Regions from separate parts of the Homo sapiens genome. Here all the other regions are linked to region 2. Evidence: promoter capture Hi-C in human tissues and cell types (Jung and others, 2019). All regions are on one chromosome and are shown on one strand. The core of a region is centred on a gene start or on the middle of the fragment in contact, and the rest is flanking DNA. Distances in the headings are between cores, read along the strand shown.

Region 1 (3,054 bases), core at 435-2,934, 60 kb before region 2:
AGTTGAAAAGATAAAATTGAATATAGATTTTAATATTGTATTCTCTCCAAATAAACAAACAAATACTCTAAGAAGTATTAGTGAGCTGCTAATGGAGCTCACTAATAAATAAACAAATACTCTAAGAAGTATTAGTGAGCTGCTATAAATGAAAAAAACAAGATTTAAGCAAGTTACTCAATCATTCTCAAGTTCAGTTTTTTTCTATTTAAAATGGGTGTAACCAAGTTTAGGATGAGTGGGAAAACATGTAAAACCCTCAAAATATGCTCCTTCTAACATTCCACTTATTTCTGCTGAAGCAGGACATTTTCCTGTCCCATTCATGGGACTCACTGCAGTGTTGCCTCATTTACCCAGCCCGCAGCTTTCAACTCCTTGTGGGAGAGAGCATGTGAGAGAAAGAGGCAGGAACTGGAGTCCACGAGTGCTGGAACCAGCTGGCTGCTTCTGCACTGGCAGGAGTTACCTCCACTCACTCAGACCCGCTGCACTCCACCCCTCACAGGAGGCAGCATGCAGGTGAGCGGTTACAGGAGCCAGGGCAAGTGCTTTGCGCACCAGCAGAAGCAAACTCCATGCAGGCCCCATGGCAGCCTCAAGGGGGCTGCCTTTGACCCCTGAAGCCCCAGAATGTGTGTTACAGTGCTCTTTTAGCTCTGGCATCCAAGGACAGCTTAAGTGTTAACAGCTCAGTGGGTCCTCTGCCTTTTCGCATGAGGTGGCTGCCCTCCATCAGCGAGGGCAAAGGGCCAGTGTGATAGCCTTTTGCATCCACACTTGTGGCTCTCAAGCTCTTGTCCAGTGTTCAGGAAAAATGAGGTTGCACGAATGAATTGAAGGATGGTAAATGAACGGGATTTTATTGCTGATGAAAGTGGCTCTCAGTGGGAAGGGGAGTTGAAAAGGAGACAGGGCAGACACATAATCTTTCCCCAAAGTCTGACTGTCTTTGGCCAGATTCTTCTCCAAAGTTACACTGTCAAGCTGTCCCTCTGAAGTCAAGCCACTTCTCTCTGATATCCAGCCCAACATCCCACCGCTTCTCCTCTCTGCTGGCTGAGTCTGGGGTCTTTACAGGCAGAGGATGGAGGGCAGGGTGGGCCATGGGTGGTTTAGGAAAAGGCAACATTTGAATGGGAAAACAAGGATGTAGGTTCTCATTTTGGGCCACAGTTTCAGGCCTTTGGCTTGAGGGTGGGGTTTTGTCAGGGACCTGCCTCTTCTGCCTAGAATTACTCTGCCTCCTGTCCCTATCACTGGTACAACCAGTGTGTATGTACAAAATATTATGATGGAGAAATACAAACCTTGAAGCTATGATGTCCTGGTGTGATCCCTGATCCATCCTTTACAAGTGATGTGATAATGGGCAAGTTACTGAACTTTTCAGGGCCTCGATGAGTGGTGGTAATTTTAAAGGAGGTGACAGTATAGAATGTTTAGAACAGTACTTTGTACAAAGTAGGAATTCTGCAGATGTTAGCTTGCACCCTTCTTAATGGACATTCATATAATGTGAAATCAGGTATTTATCCCAATGAGTGAGCATGCAGCATATCGAGGAGAGGCTTCTACTGATGCATCTCTTCAAAAACAATACCCACTTTCTAAATAAAATTAAAAATAACAACAACAAAATTATATTGATTCATTTTAACTCATTTTAGTGAAGGTGACATTGGAGCCTGTGTACTGGGGAAGTAAAGAAACACTTAAAAACAAAATGGGGTTGGGGGTGGGGAGGGATGCACAGGTGGACCACAGACGAACTTAGGGCAGTGAAATTACTCTTTATGATACTCTAATTATGGGTACATGTTATTATAAATTTGTCTAAACCCATAGAGTGTACAACATGAAGAGTAAGCTCTAATGTAAACTTTGGATTTGGGGAGATAATGATGTGTCAATGTAAGTTCATCAGTTGTGACAAAAGTACTCTCTGATGGGGATGTTAATAATGGGGCAGGATGTGCATATGTGGATGCAGGGGGTATATGGGAAATCTCTGTATCTTTCACTCCATTTTGCTGTGAACCTAAACCTGCTCTAAAAACTAAAATCTATTTAAAAATGGAAATAAAAGATGCCCCCTTTTTTTTCTATACCCACAAAATACTTATGACACCAAATGTATGGGGTTTTTCCTTACATCAAGCAATTCTCCAACAGTCTGGATATCAATTGAGTGTCCTACAATTCAATTATGATCCTTAATACTGGGAGTTTAGGCAAACTCCACAGGTTATAGGCTTCGTCCACAAGTCTGCCCCTAGCCCACTGCAGATGCCAATTGCTGGTAGAGTGTCCTCAGGTTTCCCACAACTTCTGTCCTGTCCGGAGGATCCCGCACTCCCTCCTCAGGTTTGATAATTTGCTAGAATGATTCACAGAACTCAGGAAAACACTTTACTTACTATTACTGGTTTATTATAAAGGATACAACCCAGGAACAGCCAAATGGAATAGATGCCCAAGACAAGGTATTGAGGGCAGTGGTGCATGGAGCTTCCATGCCCTCTTCGGGTATACCACTTTCCCAGAACCTGCATGTGTTCACAAACCTGGATGCTGTCTTAACCCCATCATTTAGTGTTTTCATGGAGGCCTCATTATATAGGCAGTTGAGTAAATCATTGACCCTTGGTGACTGAGTCAATCTCTAGCCCCTCTATCCTCCCTGGAGGTTGAGAGTTTGGGCTGAAAGTTCCGATCCTCTAATCACTTGGTTGGTTCCTCTGGCAAACCAGCCCCCATCCTTCAAGACTCACCTTATTAGCATAAACTCAGGTATGGTTGAAAGGGGCTTACCATAAATAACAAAAGATGTTCCTCTCATCCCTAACACTCAGGAAATTCCAAGGCATTTAGAAGCTCTATGCCAGAAACCAGGGACAAAGATCAACTATATATTTTAATTATATCACAATATCATATGAAATGTAATAATTTCAATGGAAACAAAGAGGCTTGAACCCCAGTAAGAAGATATATAGACAAAGCACCAAACCCCTAGTTTTCCTAGTGACTAATCCAGTACTCTTTCCTCTC
Region 2 (2,797 bases), core at 279-2,778:
CCTCACTTCTATCATTTGCCTTACAACAGTTTGAATTATTGATAGGAGTTTCTTTCCCTAGAATTAAAAAGAATTCTAGCCAATCCATTCAAAATAAACTTGGGAGAGCGCCTCACATCCTCCTATCCTCTTTATCTCTGCCTCACCATTATGATACTAATTGATTTCCTCATATTTTCATCTCTCCACAAACAAATGTATCTGGCTTCTGGCCCATCTCCCACTCATTTTGACTTTAATAAGAAAAGATAACTCAGAGAAGGGTAAAGGACAGAGCACGTAGCACTCCTCCATGTCCTTTGACATTTTCTATCATGCCTAAACAAGAAGCAGACAGAATTGTCCCCACTGAGATAGACACGACCTCCGGCAACAGCATGAATGTGACAACTGAGGGGCTGGGAGAGCCTGGAGCCCGGCAAGCAGCTGAGAGAAACCCCAAAGCAGAGAGAAGAGATAGGCAACAGACGGAAAAATAGAGAAAACAGAAACAGCAGGCAGGAGAGGAAAACAAAATTGAGAAATAAATAAGAAATAAAAGTGCTGTAAAGATAGAAACCACACCATACGGGAAAAAGAAACAGCACAGAAGGAAAAGAAAGGATGTAATCAGATCAGAGTAATGAAGGCAGGCAGTCGATACCGAAGTGAGAAATTGGACCAAAGGGAAAATAGTCAAAAGCTAGAATTCATGGAGGTGACAGTAGTAATTAGAACTTGGAGAGAAGGAGAATATCAGGGAAGAAAAAGGGAAAATAGAAGAGGTGGCAGTGACAAAAAGAATCATTATGAAAATGATATTTCCCACCGCTGTAAAAAGAAAAACAAATATGCTCAAAGTAATTGTTTTCCGAGGGGGTCTGGGGGAGGATAACGAGGGCATCTCAATCGCTGCTGCTTCCCTGGCTGGGTTGCTTGAGAGCATCCACGAGTGTGAAGGCTGCGAATAGGGCGCGTTAGAGAGATGAGTTGGGACACTGTCCCCACCTCACCCCCCACACCTTGTGCCTCTTTAAAATGTCCTATGCACTCAAATGTTGTCTGTTGTATTTGCAATAGTGTCTCTACGAAACCCAGCCTGTTGGAAAATCTAACTTTTGCAGTTTTCTTAAGGGTGTTAAGCCACAAGCTGCAGGTCTGGGACAGCCCTAGCTGCAAGTTAAGGGACAGTCGTTCCTCCTGCATTTGCATCGGTAGTTCTCGCCTGTGTTCTGGGGACAAAGCATTGGCTGGTCAGCACCTGAGCCGAACCCCTTCCTTTCGGGGAAAAGAAAGGTGCTGGGAAGCAACCGCCCAGCTCCCACCATCTGTACTTACGTCGAGGAAGATCGACATGCCCTTGGACAGGTGCAGAGCAGAGCTGAGCTCCTCCGAGGAGTTGTTGGAGGACGGCGATGTCTCCTGGGAATCTTCCATCCTCGGGAGCCCTGACGGCCTCAGGCGGAGCGGGGCTAGGCGGACGCACCGGCTCTGGCAAGGGCGCGGCCGCAGCTGCTGCTTCGCCGCCGCCGGGCTCTGGATCCGGGAGGGTGTTCGCTCCCGCGCGCGCCTCCCTCCGCGCTCTCCGCGCTCTCCGCGCTCGGTGTCCCCCCCTCCCTCCTCCGGCCTCTGCGCTCCCACGCGCTCCAACTCTCGCCTCCTCCTTCCCGTAGTTGACGGCGTCTGGATCCATGTCATCCCCGCACGTAGCAACGCGCGGAGGGGAGCGGGCTCTGCCCCCGGCACGGCCATCGGCCACGGCTGGAGATAGCCTGGGGACCCCTACCAGCCCCACGACGGCCCCAAGTGCAGGGATGGAGGAGGGCGTCCGGACAGAGAGAAGGGACGAATGGCAGGGCGTTTGTCCTGAGCAGCCAAAGCGCAAGGTAAGGACGCCCCCAGCCTCACCTGAGTGGATGCCATAAATAGGGAGGAACTCAGAGAGGTTCTACCTACTCTGCTTTTGGTCCCAGTGGCCTGTCTGCCCGACCTTCCCCAAAGGCGGGGGCAGGGTTCACGAATACCAGCAATCGAGGAGCAGCTGGTTTGGTGTAGGGATTAAGCCATTCGGTGTTATCTTGCGCTCGAAGGACTTAACCTGTAAGCCTCACTTTTCCTCATCAGTAAAATGGTTACACCGGTCTCACCCCAGAGGGTTCTGAGGCTTACCTATGGCAGTGCTGCTGACAAAGGCGGTGCTATGAACTCTGCCTAGAGTAGGCTTCGAAACGTTTGCTATGGGGCAAGGATTGTTAGGTAATGTTCAAATATGAAGTTTCCCAAAGTCACAAGACGAAGTCCTTATCTGTGTTTAAGCATTTAAACCAGGGTAATTATTCAATATTTGACGGCTTCTGCGAAGGCTGTAAAAATAGGAAACTGACCACACCTTTCATCAGGAGAGAGATCCAGTTTATTGGGCATCTAAAATGTGTATGTGTTGGTTACAAACTTGAGCTATCTGGGAGCGAGATAAGGCAAAAAAGAGGGAACCTTGTCTAAACAAGACTCTGCCTCTACCAGTGAGAACGGGTGAGGAGGATCCAGATCTCCATTTTGTGGCCTTTGGAGAAAAGTAAACATATTCTTCCTATAAGACAGGCCCACACACAACCAAAATGCTGATCAACATGTGAGTGTCTTAAAGGCATGTAAAACATGCTAGGGGTTTCTCAGGAGAGACAGGTTACACTCTGGCTGGGGGGACCAATAAAAGCTTGATGAAAGAAGCGGTATATGAAATGGACCTTAAAAATCAGTGGATACTCCATGCTTGATAGAAATAGAAGGAAAACACTTCCAGGCAGAAGGAACAGCG
Region 3 (3,032 bases), core at 514-3,013, 47 kb after region 2:
GAAATGGAAAATTCCTGGACACATACACCCTCCCAAGACTAAACCAGGAAGAAGTCAAATCCTTGAGTAGATCTATAACAAGTTCTGAAATTGAGGCAGTAATAAATAGCCTATCAACCAAAAAAAGCCCAGATGGATTCACAGCAGAATTCTACCAGAGGTACAAAGAAGAGCTGGTACCATTCCTTCTGAAACTATTCTAAACAATTGAAAAGGAGGGACTTCTCCCTGACTCTGAGGCCAGCATCATTCTGATAACAAAACCTGGCAGAGACACAACAAAAAAAGAAAACTTCAGGTCAATATCCCTGATGAACATCAGTGCAAAAATCCTCAATAAAATACTGGGAAATTGAATCCAGCAGCACATCAAAAAGCTTACCCACCACAGTCAAGTTGGCTTCAGCCCTGGGATGCAAGGCTGGATCAACGTATGCAAATCAATAAACGTAATCCATCACATAACCAGAACCAGTGACAAAAACCACAAGATTATCCCAATAAATGCAGAAAAGACCTTTGATAAAATTTAACATCCCTTTATGTTAAAAACTCTCAATAAACTAGTTATTGATGGAACACATCTCAAAATAATAAGAGCTATTTATGACAAACCCACAGCCAACATCATACTAAATGGGCAAAAGCTGGAAGCATTCCATGCAGAACAAGACAAGGATGCCCTCTCTCACCATGCCTATTCAGCGTAGTATTGAAAGTTCTGGCCAGGGCAATAAGGCAAGAGAAAGAAATAAAGTGTATTCAAATAGGAGGAGAGGAAGTCAAATTGTCTCTTTTGGCAGACAACATGATCCTATATGTAGAAAACCCCATCATCTCAGCCCAAAGGCTCCTTAAGCTGATAAGCAACTTCAGCAAAGTCTCAGGATACAAAATCAATGTGCAAAAGACACAAGCATTCCTATACACCAATAATAGACAAGCAGAGAGCTAAATCATGAAAGAATTCCCATTCACAAATGCTACAAAGAGAATAAAATACCTAGGAATATAGCTAACAAGGGATGTGAAGGACCTCTTCAAGGATAACTACAAACCACGGCTCAAGGAAATAAAAGAGGGCACAAAAAATGGAAAAACATTCCATCCTCATGGATAGGAAGAATCAATATCATGAAAATGGTCATACTGCCCAAAGTAATTTATAGATTCAATGTTATTCCCATCAAACTACCACTGACATTCTTCACAGAATTAGAAAAAACTACTTTAAAATTCTTATAGTACCAAAAAAGAGGCTGTATAGCCAAGACAATCCTAAGCAAAAAGAAAGAGGCTGGAGGTATCCGGGTACTTGACTTCAAACTATATTACAAGGCTACAGTAACCAAAACAGCATGTTTGGTACCAAAACAGACATACAGACCAATGGAACAGAATAGAGACCTTAGAAATAAGACTGCACATCAATGACCATCTTATCTTTGACAAACCTGTCAAAAACAAGCAATGGGGAAAGGATTCCCTATTAATAAATGGAGCTGGGAAAACTGGCTAGTCATATGCAGAAAATGGAAACTGGACCTCTTCCTTATGACTTATACAAAAATTAACTCAATATGGATTAAACACTGAAATGTAAAACCCCAAACCATAAAAACCCTAGAATAAAATCTAGGCAATACTGTTCAAGACACAGGAATGGACAAAGATTCTACGATGAAATTGCCAAAAGCAATTGTAACAAAAAACAAAAATTAACAAATGGAATCTAATTAAACTGAAGAGTTCTTGCACATCAAAAGAAACTCTCATCAGTGAACAGGCAGTCTACAGAATGGAAGAAAACTTTTGCAATCTACCCTTCTGACAAAGGGCTAATATTCAGAATTTACAATGAACGTACACGAATTTACAAGAAAAAAACAAACAACCCCATCAAAAAGTGGGCAAAGGACATGAACAGACACTTTTCAAAAGAAGACACTTATGCAGCCAAAAAGCCTGAAATAAAACTCAACATCATGATCATTAGATAAATGCATGTCAAAACCGCAATGAGATACCATCTCATGCCAGTCAGAATGATGATTATCAAAAAGTGAAGAAACAACAGATGCTGGCAAGGCTGTGGAGAAATAGGAATGCTTTGGTGGGAATGTAAATTAGTTCAACTGTTGTGGAAGACGGTGTGGGGTTCCTCAAGGATCTAGCACCACAAATACCATTTGACCCAGCAACCCCACTACTGGGTATATACCCAAAGGAATATAAGTCATTCTATTATAAAGATGCATGCACACATATGTTTATTGCAGTGCTATTCACAATAGCAAAGACATGGAACCAACTCAAAGGCCCATCAATGATAGACTGGATAAAGAAAGTGTGATACATATACACCATGGAATACTATGCAGCCATAAAAAATAATGAGATCATGTCCTTTGCAGGGACATGGATGAAGCTGGAAGCCATTATCCTCAGCAAACTAACACAGGAAGAGAAAACCAAACTCTGCATATTCTCACTTATTAGTGGGAGCTGAACAAGGAGAACACATGGACACAGGGAACAACACACACTGGGGCCCATCAGGGATGGCAAGGGGAGGGAGAGCATGAGTACAGATGGCTGATGCATGCAGGGGTTGATAACTAGGTGATGGGTTGATAGGAACAGCAAATCACAGTGGCAAATGTTTACCTGTGTAACAAATCTGCACATTCTGCACATGTATACTGCCTGGAACTTTAAGTAAAAAAACAAACAAACAAAAAACAAGTGTCACTATCTTTATATCAGATTAAATAGATGTTTTTTGATAGAGTCTTGCTGTGTCTCTCAGGGCTGGAGTGCAGTGGCACAATCATGGCTCACTGTGGCCTCAACCTCCCAAGCTCAAGAGATCCTTCCACCTCAGCCTCCTGAGTAGCTGGGACTACAGGCAGATGCCACCAGGCCTGGCTAATTTTTATAGAGACAGCATCTAACTGTGCTGCCCAGACTGGTCTTGAACTCCTGGACTCAAGTGATTCACTCACCTCAGCCTCCCAATGTGCTGGGGATTA
Region 4 (2,864 bases), core at 211-2,710, 42 kb before region 2:
TGAAAAGCAAGATAGTTATGGCCTCTGCCTTCGTGGAATTTAGGCTAGCAGTAAATCCCAGTCAAATAAACACCCTAATAAATATAAAATTGTAAATAATATAGGGGCTGTAAAGAGCAGTCCATGTTACAATGAGAATGCAGAATAGAAATTTTAAACTAATAAAGAAAGTCGATGCGGGCTCTTTTTTAAAAAAAAAAAAAAGAAAGTCAGGGAAAGCTTTCATGAGACATATAGATGTGTATATGATTACATAAACATGGAAAAAATACACAAGACCAATTTAGGTGATAAAGATTGGTTATGGGGGATAGTATAAGGATAGAGGGTAGAAAAGGAAAAGAAATCTAAAAGCAAGAGTTTTCCATGATTAAAATAGAATGCATACATAAAAGCTATGGTAACCAAATGCTATTGGTGATTATCTCAAGATTGTGAGGTTTCAGATATTTTATGCTCTTTCTTCTAATTTTCTATATTTTCAACTCTTTTTACAATAATTATGTACTGTTTATATTATTTGGTTTGTGAGTGTCTTAGTCCTTTTGGGCTTCTCTAACAAATACTTCAGACTGGGTAATTTATAAGCAACAGAAATTTATTGCTCACAGTTCTGGAGGCTAAGTCGAAGATTAAGACACCAACAGATTTGGTGTTTAATGAGGGCTTGTTACTCATCGATGGCACTTTCTATGTATCCTTACATAAGTGGAAGGGACACACAAGCTCCTTCAGGGCTCTTTTATAAAAGGGCACTCATCCCATTCATGAGGGTGGAATCCTTATGACCTAGTCATTTGCCAAAGGCCCTCTCTTTTAATACTATCACTGTGGATATTAAGTTTCAACATATAAATTTCCAAGAAACACATACATTCAGACCATAGCAGTGGGGGAAATATTTTCCTTAAAAAATTGCTCTTGAAAAAACCTGCACTTCAAAAGTAAGCAGTGACTTTTTGGTTATTTGTAATCTACATTTATTTCTAAAATTCTGAAATCTTTTTTTTTTTTTTTTTTTTTTTTGAGACACAGTTTCACTCTGTCTCTTAGGCTGGAGTACAGTGGTGCACAGTCTCAGCTCACTGCAACCGCCACCTGCTGGGTTCAATCAATTCTCATACCTTAGCCTCCCAAGTAGCTGGGATTACAGGCATGCGCCACCATGCCTAGCTAATTTTTGTATTTTTAATAGAGGTGGGGTTTCACCATGTTGGCCAGGCTGGTCTCGAACTCTTGATCTCAAGTGATCCACCTGCCTCAGCCTTCCAAAGTACTGGGATTACAGGCGTGAGCCACCACGCCTGGCTGAGAATTCTGAAATCTTAAGAATTCATGGAGAACAACTGTAACTGTTTTCTTAAACTGACCATTCTTGAGAAAAATGTACAGAATTGGTTGGGGCATTGGAAATGGAGGAAAAATACTGTCCACGAAGTGAGCACCATGTATTTTAGAGAGATTGGGGTTACAATTTTACTGCATTGATTTCATCCATCTGGTGGATATTGATGACTTAAGAAAAAAACTGCATTTATGTGAATAAATCATTCATCTAGCTTCCTCAGTAGACAATTTTTATTTTGAGCAGTAATTGATTTTACTTCACTAATGGCAACTCTTTCATGGCTGGCGGAAAGAAAGAGTTCAATTAAGTTTAAAAAAGAATTTAAACACATGTATGCTAGATGTAGCAAACCACCGTGGCACATGTATACCTACGTAACAAACCTGCACATTCTGCACATGTATCCCAGAACTTAAAGTAAAATTAAAAAAAAAGAATTTAAGCTTTTTTTTGGGAGGAATAGATGAAAACCAGAAAAATAATTCTCTAGATAAGAAAATATAAAAAAGATATGAAAAAGTTTGAAAAGGCCCTTAATACAAACGATTAAAGGAAACAGTAAAACTCTGTGAGTACTCTGAAGAGCAATAGAGAAAATATGGCAAATGCAAAGTGATGGGATGGAGGATGGCAGGAACTAAGTCTAAAAGTAGATGATGATTTCTAAGTATAAAGGTAGGATAGAAGGAGGGAAAATGTGCAAAGAGTGGAAACAATGTCCACAGAAAAGAAGAATAACATTTCTACATTGTAGCAACTCCCACACTGTAAAAACCCTACATAATAGATATAAAAAGAGAAGAGAAAAAGGCAGCAATTAAAGCAATTACCTCTATAGTATACATCAAATATATTCTACTGTTAGAGAGAATTAACCATCTTTTTATCAAGGATAAATTACTGAAAGCGATTTTTAAAAATTGCCTTGGAATATTTTGATTTCTGATACATGAAATATAAAGCAAAAAACATGAAATTTTATTGAGATGATATGGCAATGGAAAGAGCTTGGGTTTGGTTTTCAGGCAGACCTGAGAAAACCCCAGACCCTTAATCATAATATTGATGTAACTTTGGGCAAGTTATTTAACTTTTTGTATCAGATTGCTTAACTGTAGGCTATGAATGACAATACATTCTTATTTTGTTTGTTTGGTTTTTTTAAAGATTAAATAAGATGATACAAGTTAATTGCCTGGTACATAATCACTTCATAAATGCATTTTCCTATTCAATTAGAAATTAAGCATTTCCTTTAGAAATTAAATATTTTTAGAAATTATATAGAAACTGCCTTGACACAAAATTTGACTTGACTACCATTTTTGTCGGAGAAAATTAGAACCAGTTTTTCTTTTTCCAAAAAATTATAACTAAGAATAAACCATTTCCATGTCATTTGAAAAAATCCCTTTAACATTCTCTCCTTTATAAATTCTCCAAACTTTGCTAATCTTTTAATTATGAGGCAGAATTTGGCTTGTTGATTCTGCACTCTTCCTCCAGGGAAGAATGC

What was found. The method cuts DNA at HindIII sites, captures the fragments that hold promoters and counts their contacts. A contact is called where the count stands out against the background at its distance.
Region 1: a contact is called between a fragment that was not itself captured here and the fragment with the promoter of NECAB1 in region 2, in 1 of the 25 tissues and cell types used here (hippocampus).
Region 3: a contact is called between a fragment that was not itself captured here and the fragment with the promoter of NECAB1 in region 2, in 1 of the 25 tissues and cell types used here (pancreas).
Region 4: a fragment that was not itself captured here is called in contact with the fragment with the promoter of NECAB1 in region 2 in 3 of the 25 tissues and cell types used here (H1 embryonic stem cells, dorsolateral prefrontal cortex and hippocampus).

What each region holds. Positions count from the first base shown.
Region 1 is chr8:90,850,627-90,853,680 of GRCh38, reverse strand. The region is part of intron 3 of NECAB1 (N-terminal EF-hand calcium binding protein 1); the gene reads right to left. The region is part of intron 1 of LOC105375635 (a long non-coding RNA gene); the gene reads left to right. All of the region lies in intron 2 of LOC105375634 (a long non-coding RNA gene), which reads left to right. Among named protein-coding and RNA genes, the nearest start is that of NECAB1, 60 kb to the right of the region's middle. RefSeq lists a silencer at 585-654. The HindIII fragment of the contact is 9,806 bases long and covers 1-3,054 here.
Region 2 is chr8:90,790,506-90,793,302 of GRCh38, reverse strand. NECAB1 (N-terminal EF-hand calcium binding protein 1) reads right to left here and starts at 1,528. Exons shown (of 13, transcript NM_022351.5): 1 at 1,318-1,528. The coding sequence starts at 1,416. LOC105375633 (a long non-coding RNA gene) reads left to right here and starts at 1,135. Exons shown (of 4, transcript XR_928389.4): 1 at 1,135-1,865. The HindIII fragment of the contact is 16,269 bases long and covers 1-2,797 here.
Region 3 is chr8:90,743,289-90,746,320 of GRCh38, reverse strand. The region is part of intron 1 of LOC105375633 (a long non-coding RNA gene); the gene reads left to right. Among named protein-coding and RNA genes, the nearest start is that of NECAB1, 47 kb to the left of the region's middle. The HindIII fragment of the contact is 7,416 bases long and covers 1-3,032 here.
Region 4 is chr8:90,832,327-90,835,190 of GRCh38, reverse strand. The region is part of intron 3 of NECAB1 (N-terminal EF-hand calcium binding protein 1); the gene reads right to left. All of the region lies in intron 1 of LOC105375635 (a long non-coding RNA gene), which reads left to right. Among named protein-coding and RNA genes, the nearest start is that of NECAB1, 42 kb to the right of the region's middle. The HindIII fragment of the contact is 3,848 bases long and covers 1-2,864 here.